2 separate regions of the Homo sapiens genome follow, and region 2 is linked to region 1. The links are contacts of gene promoters, found by promoter capture Hi-C in blood cells and fetal thymus (Javierre and others, 2016). All regions are on one chromosome and are shown on one strand. Each heading gives the region's core, a stretch centred on a gene start or on the middle of the fragment in contact. The rest is flanking DNA. Distances are from core to core; before and after follow the strand shown.

The links. Contacts are between HindIII fragments. The CHiCAGO score rates a contact against its expected background, and 5 or more counts as called.
Region 2: a fragment that was not itself captured here is called in contact with the fragment with the promoter of ITGA11 in region 1 in 1 of 17 cell types (M1 macrophages); the score reaches 6.8 in M1 macrophages.

The regions. Positions count from the first base shown.
Region 1 is chr15:68,429,771-68,436,628 of GRCh38, reverse strand. It overlaps ITGA11 (integrin subunit alpha 11), which reads left to right and starts at 4,466. Exons shown (of 30, transcript NM_001004439.2): 1 at 4,466-4,614. The coding sequence starts at 4,563. RefSeq lists a silencer at 2,465-2,759 and an enhancer at 5,306-6,065. The HindIII fragment of the contact is 3,996 bases long and covers 3,018-6,858 here.
Region 2 is chr15:68,894,649-68,901,822 of GRCh38, reverse strand. No RefSeq gene overlaps it. Among named protein-coding and RNA genes, the nearest start is that of SPESP1, 32 kb to the left of the region's middle. The HindIII fragment of the contact is 2,703 bases long and covers 2,862-5,564 here.

The DNA.
Region 1 (6,858 bases), core at 3,217-5,716:
GCCAGGCATGGTGGCTCCTGCCTATAATCCCAGCATTTTGGGAGGCCAAGGCAGGTGGATCACTTGAGGTCAGAAGTTGGAGACCAGCCTGGCCAACATGGTGAAACCCTATCTCTACTTAAAAAAAAAAAAAAGATACAGACACACACACACACACACACACAAATCAGCCAGGCATGGTGGCGGGCGCCTGTAATCCCAGCTACTTGGGGAGCTGAGGCAGGAGAATCACTTGAACCCAGGAGGAAGAGGTTGCAGTGAGCTGAGATTGCACCACTGCACTCCAGCCTGGGTGACAGAGCAAGACTCCATCTCAAAAAAAAAAAAAAAAAAAAAGCATTGGTCCTAACTGAGCCAAGGCCTCTGTCATCAGTACTCCAGACCACTGCTCGTTCTCCCTCCATAGAGAAGCCAAGGTCCTCCCAGAGGAGCATGCTCAGACTGAAATCTTGGGAGCCACAGAAGTTGCCAATAGGACCTGTCTCTGAGCTGACCATGCTCATGCAGTCTTGGCCTGAAATACCCGCTCCCTCCACCCAGTTGGGATGTTGGGATTAATACTCAATCTGCTTTCAGAATGCTGGGTTCCAATCTCAGTTCTGCCTCATAGATGATGTGGAATCTTGCGTGAATCTATTGCTACTTTGAGCTTAGATTTTTTAGTAACCATGGATTTGTCTGTCCAGTATACTTTGCCATCCCACTTTTTCTGGTTCCTTTAGGAAAGTCCTCTCCTGTAATATGTGGTTTTGATGGGGCTGTCAGTCATGGCGCCTTTCTCTTCCCAAGTCATGGGGCTGGGTGTGTGTCCCAAACTGAGCTAATTATAGCACCATATCCTCCAGACACTAGGACTGGTTCAGGGGTGGGCATGAACCAAAGCCCTAGACTTTTCTGCTGGATCTACTAAAGGAAGGCTGTCTCTCTCCCTTCAGAATCTATGAAGTATAAGCTTGGGACTGCTAGACAGTCAGAGAAACTCTTCTGCTGCAGGAAAGGAAAATGGAGTGAAGCAAAACTAAGAGAAGACAGAGAGAGAGCAGTAACATTGATTTGAGACCCTTGATCCAGCCACACCTGCAGACAGAACACCTTTGCACTTCCTAGTTACATGACCTTTTACATTCTATTTTCTGCTTCAGTTTGATTGTGTTGAATTTCTGTCACTTGCAAGTGAAAGAATCTTCAACTATACAATCTCTTTACTATAAAAAATAAATACAATTTTGTACAAGATGAGTATTAAATTAGATCATGGATATGAAAGGGATTTCAAAAATAGTAAAACACTATACATAGCACTTGTACATTGTTGGTAGGAATCTAAAATGATGTAGCAACTGTGGAAAATAGTTTGGCAGTTCCTCAAATGATTAAACATAAAATTACTATATGATCAGCAATTCCACTCCTAGGTGTATACCCAAGAGAACTGAAAACATACATTCATACAAAAACTTGTATGAACATTATGCTAACATTATGCTATGTTAATGGATGGTAGAACTGCTACCAGCAAGACCGGCAGCACAAGTGTTCATAGCCACATTATTCACAATAACCTAAAGTGGAAACACCTAAATAAGCCTCACCTGATGAATGGATAAACAAAAGGGGGTAGATCCATACAATGGAATGTTACTTGGCAATAAAAAGGAATGAAATACTGATACATGTTGCAACATGGATGAACCTTGGAAACATCATGCTAAGGGAAAGAAGCCAGACTCAAAAGGTCACGTATTATATGATTTCATTTATATGCAACGTCCAGAATAGGCAAATCCATAGAAATAGATTTGTGGTTGCCAGGGACTGGTGGGAAGGAATGGGGAGTGACTGCTCATGGTTACAGGGCTTCTTTTTGGGGTGATAAAAATATTGTGAAATTAGTGAGGATGATTTTACAATCTTGTGAATATACTAACAACTACTGGATTCTATGGCACAGTTTATGGCATGTGAATAAATAAATCAGTTAAAACACTGTGTACATGTAAAGAGTTATTATTATTATTCAACAGAAATCACAGCTTTCATAAAGCCCTTCACCAAATTCTCTGCAGTTCTCCAGCCTTAGAGTCTGGATTGTGCACTTGTCACTCATATGCTGCTGCCTTGGGTGTGATTTAAATAATGTTTAATAGTGATGAAATAATAAATGGTTTTAAATAGATTAATAAATAACAGATTATGATTAAATAAATACATGGTTATGTCTTGTCTCCTCAGCTCCATCACCAGCTGCCCTAGTGTGGGGTTCTCCTTCCGTGTGTCCTACAGAGCACAGGGGCACAGTAGGCACTCTGTAGGATCTGTTGAAAGAACAAATGAGGGCACACCTCTCCCCTCACCCTCCCACATTACACAAAAGCACACAGAGTGATCCTCAGGACCCCCATTCCCCAGGCACCTGTGAGGACGGTGAAGGTGAATGAATGGTAGAATTGTTACCAGCGAGACCAGCAGCAGCGCAGCTAGGACAGCCACTACAGTGCGCCCCTTCAGCAAGCAGCATGCAGACTCTGAGCACAAGCTGCAGACCACCCACACGTCAGAGGTGCCTGGGGCACCCACCAGCATGCCCTGATCCTTGGGGAATTTGCATTCTTTGCACGTGCTCCAGGTCGTTCTGATGCACCTGGAGATTTGTGCAAGGCAGGAATGTGGGCTGCAGCCCATTCCCTAGCTGTAGGGGTGTTCTACATTCAACTCAGCTGGCTTAAACTCAACTCAGTGAAGAGGACTCACTGTCGTATAACTGATAAGTCCCAAGGGGAGTGGGGTTAAGGGGTGGCTTCATTCAGGAGTTCAACAAGATCCTCCATTCTGTCATCCAGTGTCCACCTCATCTCAAGGCCAGATCCTCCTTCCCTACCCTGACCCTGTCAACTTCTGAGCCTACAAAGTTCCTTGTCCCAGGCTGGGAGAGGAGGCAGGAGTGGGAGAGGTGAGGAGAGAGAGTTAGTTCATTTGTTTGTTTGTTCTAGGGGCTCTTTTAGAAAGGCAAGAAAGCTTGCTTCCCAAAAAAACTTTTTCTTTTGTCATATTGCCCTTTCTGAAACGATGGGCTGGGAAGGGCAACATACTGATTCATTTCAGCCTGAACCGCATGCCTCCTTACACACACACACACACACACACACACACCAGGGACGGAATCACCTTCCCCGAGTCTGTGGCTGAATGGGTGAGGTGAAGATGAAGTAAAACCCAGATAGCCAACCGAAAGATAGTGAGGTTGGGAGACGAGCACAAGCCCACTTCACTTATGTGAACCTGGGTCTTCTCAAACTCCAGCTCATCTTCAGGGGCCCTGACTGAACATCACCTCCTCTGGGAAGCCCTTCCAATACCTCCCAGATAGAAAACTCTATCCTTTGTGCACCCACACACCACCTGTACTCACCCATCCATCCACCCGCCCACCTACTTTGTTCCTGGGTGTTAGGGGCTGAGTACTCCATTGTGAACCAGAGATTTCTACCCTGATGGTGTTTTCAGTCTGCACAGGAGAGAAAAGTTAAATGATCACACCAATTGATGCCTTGCTTCTCTACTAAGCACAATGAAGAGAAATGAGGGAGAGCGGGCTGGGGAATATCAGCATGTGTCTGGGACTCAACCTGGTGGGGACGGGAAGAGGGGGTGAAGGAAGCCTTTCCTGAGAAAGTGGGGGAAGGGCGCTCTGCTGTGGCTTTCCCTGCATCTTGGCCTTCCTACCCTCTGCCTCGGCTTCCTCCATTGCTGGAAAAGCCTCCACAAGCGCGGTGGAGGTCCGGGGCCTGGATTTAAAGCTCTTGAGATAAATGTGCATTGAATTTAACTACCAGTGATTAGAAGAGGGAAAGAAGGTGGCAGGGTTACAAAGAAGAGCTTCACGTTAGGTTAAGAGGGGGTGCACGGTGTCCCTGGGTGCTTTGGAATGCCTCAGGTGTGGAGGCTCAGGGAGTGGCAGTGGAGGCGAATCTGCATGTATTCCAGGGTCAGAAGAAACACTAGCCTCTACAATTCAAGCCGCAGGGTGCAGGGAGACACGGGGATGTCTTAGAATGGACCTTTGAGGGACATCCACTCACTTGGCCAAGGGAGACCTGCGTTCCAGCAGGTGTTCCTGAGCCAGCTTGGGTACCCTCTGAGTTTTGTGAATCTCTTTTCACTGGGAAATGGGAATAAAAACCACTTTTCCTGAACAGAATCTGACTGAGGCGGTGCGGTGCTACACTGGTGAGGGGGTTCCCAGGAGCGGTTCTCTGGAGTTTTCTCCAGAGGCTGACGTGGGGTTGGCGGAGAAGGAGCGCTGCACAGGCGCGTCGAGGCAGCGCGCCGCCTGCCCAGGTGGCAGAGCGGCCGAGACTGGCCCAGAGCCCGAGCCGGAGTGGTGTCCGGCGCCCCTCCCCTCCGCTCGAGCCCTCCCACTTCCTCTGAATGAGCCGCAGCTGTCAGGGAGCCCGGCGCCCCGCGCAGTGCAGGCTGCAGGCGCCGCGCCGAGGAGGCTGCCGCTCTGGCTTGCCGCCCCCCGCCGCCGCTGCACACCGGACCCAGCCGCCGTGCCGCGGGCCATGGACCTGCCCAGGGGCCTGGTGGTGGCCTGGGCGCTCAGCCTGTGGCCAGGTAGGTGCCCACCCTCTGCCTCCCCTTGCCTCTCGGAGTCCCTCCCTGGGCCCTCGGGGCTTGGATCCAGCGGCCAGGATCGGGACGCGACCCTCCTCCCAGGGTCAGACCTCAGCTGCTCTTGGGGACGTGGGTCCCCCAGGGACTGGCCCCAGTCTAGCGGTTCAGTCAAGTTTCGCTAAAGAGGGAGGTGCGAAGGCTATTGAAAGCCGGGACTCTTTGGTGTGTTTGGGAAGAGTTGAAGAGGCTTGAGTTGAAAAGCTCCCAGATCTGGTGGCCCTCCTGGGCGCCTTAGGTGCCTCCAAGGCCCATGCCGGGGTTCCCGCACGGCTGCCAGGGGCACTCGGGTGTCCCGGGAGCGCCGAGGGCGCACGGCCCCGGCTGGGGAAGGGAATCAGCGCCAAGAGAGTGTGCCCTGGCTGCCCTCCTGCCTGGCTCCGGGGAAGCATCTCAAAGTTTGGAGAGCCGGGCGCGGCGGCCCCGGAGGGCTGAAGGGTGGGGGTGAGGGCTGCGCAGAGTGCCTCCGGCCAAAGACAGAGCAAAGCCCCGGGGCGATGGCCGGTAGGCGGGGGCTAGCTCTCGTCTGCCCGGCCAGCAGCGGCGGGACACAGTCGCGCAGCGCAGGACCCCCGAAACGTTACCTGACACCCGGGGTAGGGACCCGGCATTGCCTCCCAACCCGCGCTCGGAATTATGCAATTATTCAATAATCTGGGGAAAGCCGCCGTCGCCTAGACGCGCGCCGCCGCCTAATGCACTCCAGGTGTCGGGGCGCGGCAGGAACCTCCGGCCCGAGGGGCGCGCGGCTGGGAGCGGGAAGCCAGCCCTGAGCTCTCCGCCCTAGGGTACCCTGGCCCCGGCCGTCCCACACCGGGCTCCCCGGCTCCACCCTCCACGCGGGGCGGCTGCCAGTGATGCTGTTCTGCGGAAGACGGCCAAGTGCTCCGGCAAGGGCCAGCGCCTCGGTTACTGGCCGGGTGTGGGCGCTCAACCTTGCCTCCCCTTCTGCGTGGGCTCCAGGCCCGAGCTGGGGCCAGTAGTGGGGGTCAGATGCGGTGGTAGTGGGAGAGGTGCCCTCAGGGAGCTCAGGTGGAGACCCCTATCCCGCAGCCGCTTGCCCCAGTCCCCGGGTACCACGCGAAGCAAGTCCACCCTCCTGTCGGCCTACAGAGGAGCTTCTCAGAGGGCCCATGGTTGAAAGGGCCTCTGGCTAGTGGAATCCTAGAGTCACAGTTTAAAACAATCATTGATACATTGAGTTGTGGGGGCTTGGAAGGGAGAGCAGGGGAAGAACTGCCACCAGGCCAATATGCAACTAGAAGCCAGCTGCGGGAGGAGGCCAAGCCCATTTAGGTGTGTTTAGACAGGAGGGGAGAATCTTCTCCAGGAACTGTCCTCATATCACTAGGAGATCCAGCCACAAGAAAAGAGACGCACTCCTGTGTGACTCCAGATAGGTGGCTGCATCAGAACCTTGGGAAGGAGTGGCTGCCTTAGGGGCTAGGGACAGCCTGGACCTCAGGAAGCTAAGAGCAATGGCTTTGGAATCAGACCTGGCTTCCACTTCTGGCTCTGCACCCTGCTAGCTGTTCAATCTTGGACTGGTTATGCGACCTTTCCAACAGGTTTCCTTATGTGAAGAATGGAGACACAAATTCCGTGTCCTGTAAAGTTGTCAGGATGCACTAAGGCACTGTAAGAAAGGCCCTTAACACAGGGCTGGGTGCACAGTAGGCTTTAATCAATGGTTGTTAATGTTGTTGCTACTCAAGGAGGAGGGGGCAGAGAATGACATTAAAGGACCTCTGAAGACACAGGATTTGTGACTCAGAGCTCCGCTTATATGGCGAAAACCACTCCTGAGTTATGTCTGGTCAGTTGCATTCTTGAAATATGGGATTCATTAAACATATCAATCAATGTTGGAACAATGACATCTGCTTGCAAGGAGCTGGGGGTGGGGCCCTAGCGTGTGTGCAATCTGGGTCCTGCCTGTAACTGAGAATAAGCCAAGGCCAGGGAAAGCTAAACAGAGGCACCAGGGAGTGAATGGCTTGGGGAAACCAAGGGCTGGGTGTTCAAACAAGAGAAGTTCAATTTCAGCCAGATAAGCAAGGAAGGCTTCCTGGAGGAGGAGATATCATTTGAACTGGCCCTGGAAAAGTGTGTAGAGTGTGCATGGGCCTGAAAGTGGGAATGTTCATATTTTGGAGTATTATTTTCTGAGACTAGTTAAAGAAGATG
Region 2 (7,174 bases), core at 2,964-5,463, 470 kb before region 1:
AATGGATCACTTTTCTAATCCTCTTACCCCTTCCCTCCCTATCTGCCCAAGCACCATGTACATTTTTTTATTTTTTTGAGACAGAGTCTTGCTCTATCACTCAGGCTGGAGTGCAGTGGCACTATCAGCTCACTGCAACCTCCACCTCCTAGGTTCATGCAATTCTCCTGCCTCAGCCTCCTGAGTAGCTGGGATTACAGGCGCCCACCACCAAACCCGGCTAATTTTTGTATTTTTAGTAGAGATGGGGTTTCACCATGTTGGCCAGACTGGTCTCGAACTCCTGACCTCAAGTGATCTACCCGTCTTCGCCTCCCAGAGTGCTGGGATTACAGGCGTGCACCACCAACGCCCAGCCCCAAGCACCATGTACTTTTATAATTCCAAATTATTTGCTTATGTAATTATCTGACGAATATCTGTAATGTTTATGAGAGTAAGAGCCTTGCCTGTTTCTGTTCATTAGTGCTTCAGTGCCTGGCATATACCAGGAGCTCAAGAAGTGGAAGACATAAATCAATCAACAATTTTACATGAAATCGGTATAGCACTTGGTTCTGACTTGGGTGCACATCACAATCACCTGGGGAGTTTTTTTTAACCCCAAATCCTTGTCTTCAATGCAAATGTATTAAGTCAGAATAGCTGGAGGTAGCGGCTTGTCATCATATATATTTTTTTAATTTCCCAGATAATTTCAGTCTGTAGCAGGGATTGAGAAACAAAGACAGTGTCTCTGTTAGGGTTTGCCAAGAGGAGGTGCCAAAACAACCCTAATAGTACAAGGAGAGTACTTGCAGCCACCCTGGGACCTCCCGAGTGAAGGGAGCCCATCTCTTCTACTGAGAATCTTGGGACCTGGGTTTTGATTTGGCTAAGTGGGAGTACCCCCATCCCCACTGCATACTTCAGAATGGCAAATGCATTACATATGAAAGTAATATGCATAGTGATTCAATCATAATAAACAAGAATGGCCCTCATTCCTCAGGTGAGGTTTTCCTCAGCCCAGGCTCGAAGGAGGGAATTTTCCTTGCCCAGCTCTCCATTAAGGCCAGCCCATGCTGTGAACGGTCTACAGAAGCTTGGCTTTGTAAAATAACTTCTGGCAGTGAATAGCAGAGGCAGGATGCTCCTAAGTGGGTGATGTTCCAAAGATTTCTGGCCTTCTTCAATGGGGCAACCTGAGTTTTGTGTTTTCTACTGCAGAATGCTGAATGGTTTTGCAGGCTGTTTTGTTTTAAGAAATGGTGGGTAAGATATTTTTGGCTTTGGTTGGGGGAAGAGGGAGGAGGTTTGTGGACAGTTGCTAGCCTCAGATCTCTTAGCTAGTCCAGGGTAGAAACCATCATATTTTTATAAAATATGTTATAAATACCATATTTTACTGTACCTTTTAATGATATGTTTAGATTCACAAATACTTACCATTGTGTTACAACTGCCTGCAGTATTCAGTACAGTAACATGTTGTACAGGTTTACAAACCTAGGAGTGATAGGCTATAGTATACAGCCTAGGTGTGTAGTAGGCTATGCTGTGTAGGTTTGTGTAAGTACCGTACACTCTATGATGTTTGCACAGTGATGAAATTGCCTAACACCATATTTCTCAGAACATAGGCTTCTTGTTAAGCAACTCATGACTGTATTGTCCCAAGTCAATATTCAGCCTTCTATCTTAGCTGCTCAGTCTCAGAGAGTAAGACAGGCAACTTCTCAGCGTGCCACCCCTCAAGTCATGACTCTGTGACCAAATATATGTGTCCCAGACACTACGTCCTCACAATCAACCTCTCTCTCTCAATCTTCTTATCCTGTTCTCTGCCTTTCTCTCCTAGCAGAGTGGTTGAACCTGAGAAAAGAAAATATGACTTCAAAAGTGTTTAACTCCCTTCTCTTCACTGTCTTCAGTGTACCTGATCCTGTGCTAAGGATTTGAGTACATTTACAGTAAAACCAACTACTGTACATCATGCGCAGAGTCCTGCAAGGGTGCTCCTACTAGCCAGATATCATTTCACAGAGGGGCCTTGAGCTCACAGAGGTAAATAATTACCCAAGCTCACACACACCTGATTCCAAGGCCATGGAATTAGAAAAATGAGTCACAGGGCCAGGCGCAGTGGCTCACACCTGTAATCCCAGCACTTTGGGAGGCTGAGGCGGGCGGGTCACTTGAGGTCAGGAGTTTGAGACCAGCCTGCCAACATGGTGAAACCCTGTCTCTACTAAAAATATAAAAATTAGCCAGGTGGTGTAGCAGGCACCTGTAATCCCAGCTACTTGGGAGGCTGAGGCAGGAGAATTACTTGAACCAGGGAGGCGGAGGTTGCAGTGAACCGAGATTGCACCACTGCGCTCTAACTGGGGCAACAAAGCAGGACTCCATCTCAAAAAAAAAATGAGACAGACCCTGAGATCAGATCCCAACTACATCACTGACAAACTAAACTTGAGCAAGCCATGTATTTCTCCTGAGGCTCCCGTCTCATCAACAGAATGGAGTGTTACAAGAAGCAAAGTGAACAACAAATGTGAAAGCCCCTAGCAAATTCCTTGAGCACAGTGGGCACTTCATAAGTATGTGTCCATCTGTCTCTGTCTGTTCGTCTTCCCTTCCTCTCTCATTCTTTCTGGTTGGAACAGAGTAGGCTGTTATTAAGATGTTAGCCTGAGAGAGAACATGGTCCACAGTCCCATCTCCTTCAGAATTCTTCCAGTTCTGGGCACTCACTGCTTCATGGCTCCACTCCTTTCCTGGTTGGGTAAAAACGCCAGCTAATACAAAGATGAGTATTAGGAAAACCCATAGATATTACAGTATCTATAATATGGAAACAGTTCAGTGATGGAGAAGCTTCTTCCCTGGAAAATTAAAGGCATTAAGAATCTGGCTGGGGCTTCTGCGACCAGTTCTAGCGAGCTCTTTGGATCCTCTGCCTGTAAGATCCTCAGCATGCCAACATCTCCAGCACTCACAGCACTTGCTCCATCTCGCTGCGAAAAGGCTGAGCATGGGTCTGCATGATTACCAGCTGCTGGTCCAGCCACTGTGTAGCCTGGTCTTGGTACCAACATCATTTGTCTGAGTTTCTGGCCTTGCCCACCACTTCTGGAATTTTTGTTGGGTTATGTCTTACTTAATAATTTTTAGTGTTTTTTTTTAAACATGTATTTTCTGGATAAGAGTCCTTTGTTGGTTATATGTATTACCAAATAGCTTCTACTTCTATTCTGTGGTTTGTGTTATTAATCTCTTTATGAACTCTTTAGATAAGCAGAACTTCTTAATTTTAAAGTCATCGTTTTATCAATCTTTTTCCTAATGGTAGTAGGAGGCCTCAAGGGTGGTAAATATTTTCTTGGAGAGCATGGAGAGAGAGAAGGGGCAAGGAAGGAAGGATGCAGTCAGGAACCCTTTCCCTGAGAGCCTCTTTCTAGTGCCAAACACACACTAGCAGGTGACCCAGGCCGAGAGAGGCACCAAACTCCCTCACAGTGTGAAGCAAGACCACATTTCATGAAAGAATGAAACTCCATAGAAGAGAAACTAATCTGAACTTGCCACACCATGACTCCTTCTAATGGGGAGAAATTGTTCTGCATTCACCAGTCTGTAAACACTGGGGAATTCATCATAAATCAAAGGTGCACTGACTGAGCCACTGACAAGACAGCATCTGGAGTGGGCTTTCTGGTTGAGATGATGGCAGGTGCTGAGCAGGCTCTTTGTGTTTCTCAGAAACAATGCAGCCATGTCCCCAGGTAGGCTTAAAACCCAGCCAGGCTCTTCTCCCAGTCTTTTATCATTTTTTTACAGATGAAGTCTCACCCTGTCACCCAGGCTGGAGTGCAGTAGCACCATCTCAGCTCACTGCAGCCTCCGACTCCTGGGCTCAAGCAATCCTCCTGCCTCTGCCTTCGAAGTAGCTGGGACTGTAGATGCATGCCACCATGCCTGGCTAAGTTTTTTGCTTTTATGTAGAGACACAGTCTCCCTATGTTGCCCAAGCTGGTCTCAAACTCCTGAGCTCCAGTGGTCTCCCATCTTGACCTCCCAAAGTGCTAGGATTACAATTATGAGCCATGATACCCAGCTGCTTCTCCTTGTCTTAAAAATGCCTTTGATCTCTTTGTTCTAATTATAGAACTTGCACATATTTAAGTGAGAAATTTTATAAATTTAGAAAGACAAAAGAAAAATTATCCATAATTTTGTATGTCTGTAGATTTATGTATATCCACATAAACAAAATAAGTATCATCATTTAGTATAAGTATATTGCGAAAAAATTAAAACAGACAAATACATGGAAAAAGCAAAATTCACCTTTATTCCCACTACCATTATAAATATTTCAGTCTGTAGCCTGTTGGGGCTTTTTCATGTGCCCATGTTTTTATATCTAATTTTCTTAAAAATCAGGATCATGCTGTATCTGCCCTTTAAAACCTCCTGAACAACATGTTCTCATTAACTGTTATCATCCTCATGACAGCTTTCTTTTACTAGAGACTTGTGCTGTGCTTACTGAATCCTCACCTCTCCCCTGTCAGGCGGGTATTCTTATTGTACAGGTAAATGAGGAAAGAGCCAGACTCTGCTCCCTAGAAATAGCCACAAACTCAGCCAATGTGTAACCAGCACCCTGTCAGGTCAGAGTGCTTTGTCCACAGAAGTGCTCAGGGCCAAGTGGAAGCAGACAGAGCTTCTCAGCTGCCCTAAGTCACCAGATACTTCCATTGCTTGCAACTCCTGATATTTTAGACATTATAGAAATGATAAAATAGGGTTACAAAAATCATTATGTATTTGAGATGCTTACATTTAATAAGCTGACACTTTTTAAACTCCATCAAAATATATAATTCATCATCATTATGGAATTCACAGGATATTTACAGGATTTATAAAAAATAAAGTGAGATCAGTGATTCATCACTACTTTTATAAATCCTGTAAATATCCTGTGAATACCATAATGATGGTATTCTACCTACCAGCAGTGCCTTCCACTAATGGGATCCAACGCTGAAGCTGTAAGTTGCACATCTCTTTCTTCTGTCCTTGTTGGTTTATCTCTGTGATCACAGATAGAACCTCTTTGGGATGGATGTAAGGTCCAAATTCTAAATTTAAGGGCCTCTGTGAATTTGAAGCCCAGGACACAATAGGCCCTGAATGGAAGGAAATATTGAAGGCCACCCTTTTAAGCCCATCAGTAAGCTCATAAAAATTCAAACCCATTGGGAGAATTGCCCCAGAAAAAGAAGTTAGAGAAAACCAGCTAACACTGTCAGGTGCACTGTTTCTGAGCATAAATCTGTAAGAAAAAAATTATCACCTTTGTAATCAGGTATAACACAGTTATCAGTTACCACCTTGTCTCCCTACTGGAATATATAGAGGTAATAAAATAAATAGAACCAGCAGCTTTTTCTATAAGCTATCATAAATCATCCTAATCTTTCTAAGGGCAGAATATGGACTCCAGAGACTGGAATTTCAATCTTACCTCACTCATTCTTCTTACTAGCTGTGAGACTGATTCACTGTAAGCTTTTAACCTCTTTGAGTTTGTTTCCTAAATTATAAGGGAAAAGTAACTTCTATTTCATAGGGCTTTGCAAGACTTGAGTGTAACAATGATCATGAACATTTCTAGTACCTCGGAGGTGCTCGGTAACTATTGGTGATTTTCTGAACAGTGATAATTATTCCTAGGTTTACTGGTGAATATTCAAACTGCATGTAACCTAAATAGGTAGCAAGTTGGTCCCATAATCAAACAGATAGTAACTAACTCCAAGTGACTTTAAACAAAATTGATTTGACTATTCATCCCTATAAAATATCCTTAATGTATAAGGAAAACTACCCCCAAAAATCATAAACTCTTTTCTATAATCTTATTATTGGTGTAGTGTTGGTATTGTTACTCTGAAACATTGTGTGTGCGTGTGCGTGTGTGTGTGTGTGTGTGCACGCACATGCACACTGTAGAATACAGCAAATGAGTAGTTGTATGATCTTCTAATTCTACCACCCCAGTGTCATGAGAACTGGGATTCTCACATGAAAGAAAGAGAATAGGCCGGGTGCAGTGGCTCACGCCTGAAATCCCAGCACTTTGGGAGACCGATGCGGGCAGATCACCTGGGGTCGGGAGTTCGAGACCAGCCTAGCTAACATGGTGAAACCCAATCTCTACAAAAAATACAAAATTAGCTGGGCATGGTGGTGTGCACCTGTAATCTCAGCTACCTGAGAGGCTGAGGCGGGGAGAATCGCTTGAACCTGGGAGGCAGAGGTTGCAGTGAGCCCAGATAGCACCACTGCACTCCAGCCTGGGTGACAGAGTGAGACTCCATCAAAAAAAAAAAAAAAAAAGAGAGATAGAGCATAGACATTTAAGTTAGTAGAGTTGTTTCAACTAATGGCAATATAGAGACCTTATTTGGATCCTGATTCAAGTAAACTGTAAGATAATGACATTTGAAGCAATTATAAATTTGAACATTGACTGGGAATTTGATGATATTAAGGAATTTTTTTTTTTTTTTTTTTTTTTTTTTTTGAGACGGAGTCTCGCTTTGTCGCCCGGGCTGGAGTGCAGTGGCGCAATCTTGGCTCACTGCAAGCTCCACCTCCCGGGTTCACGCCATTCTCCTGCCTCAGCCTCCCGAGTAGCTGGGACCACAGGCACCTGCCACCACGCGTGGCTAATTTTTTGTATTTTTAAAAGAGACAGGGTTTCACCGTGTTAGCCAGGATGGTCTCGATTTCCTGACCTCATGATCCACCCGCCTCGGCCTCCCAAAGTGCTGGGATTACAGACGTGAGCCACCAAGCCCGGCAATATTAAGGAATTTTTTAATTTTGAGTATGACAGCAGTATTGCCATTAGCTTTAAACTGTGCTTGTTTTTTAGAGATAATGTTAAAATATTTAAAGATGTAAAGATATAAAGTCTCGATAGACTTCTTGTTTCTGGTTGCACATGTACGGAACTTGGAAGTTGCCACTCCATCCTAACAAGAAAAAAGCTGAACAGACTGATGGACAACTGCTCTTGGATCCATAAGAGAGGTGAGGACACGGGCAAATGCTGCCCCGAGATGGGAAAGACAGATAAATACAGGGAGCCACAACTTACCAGAGCAGACTCATG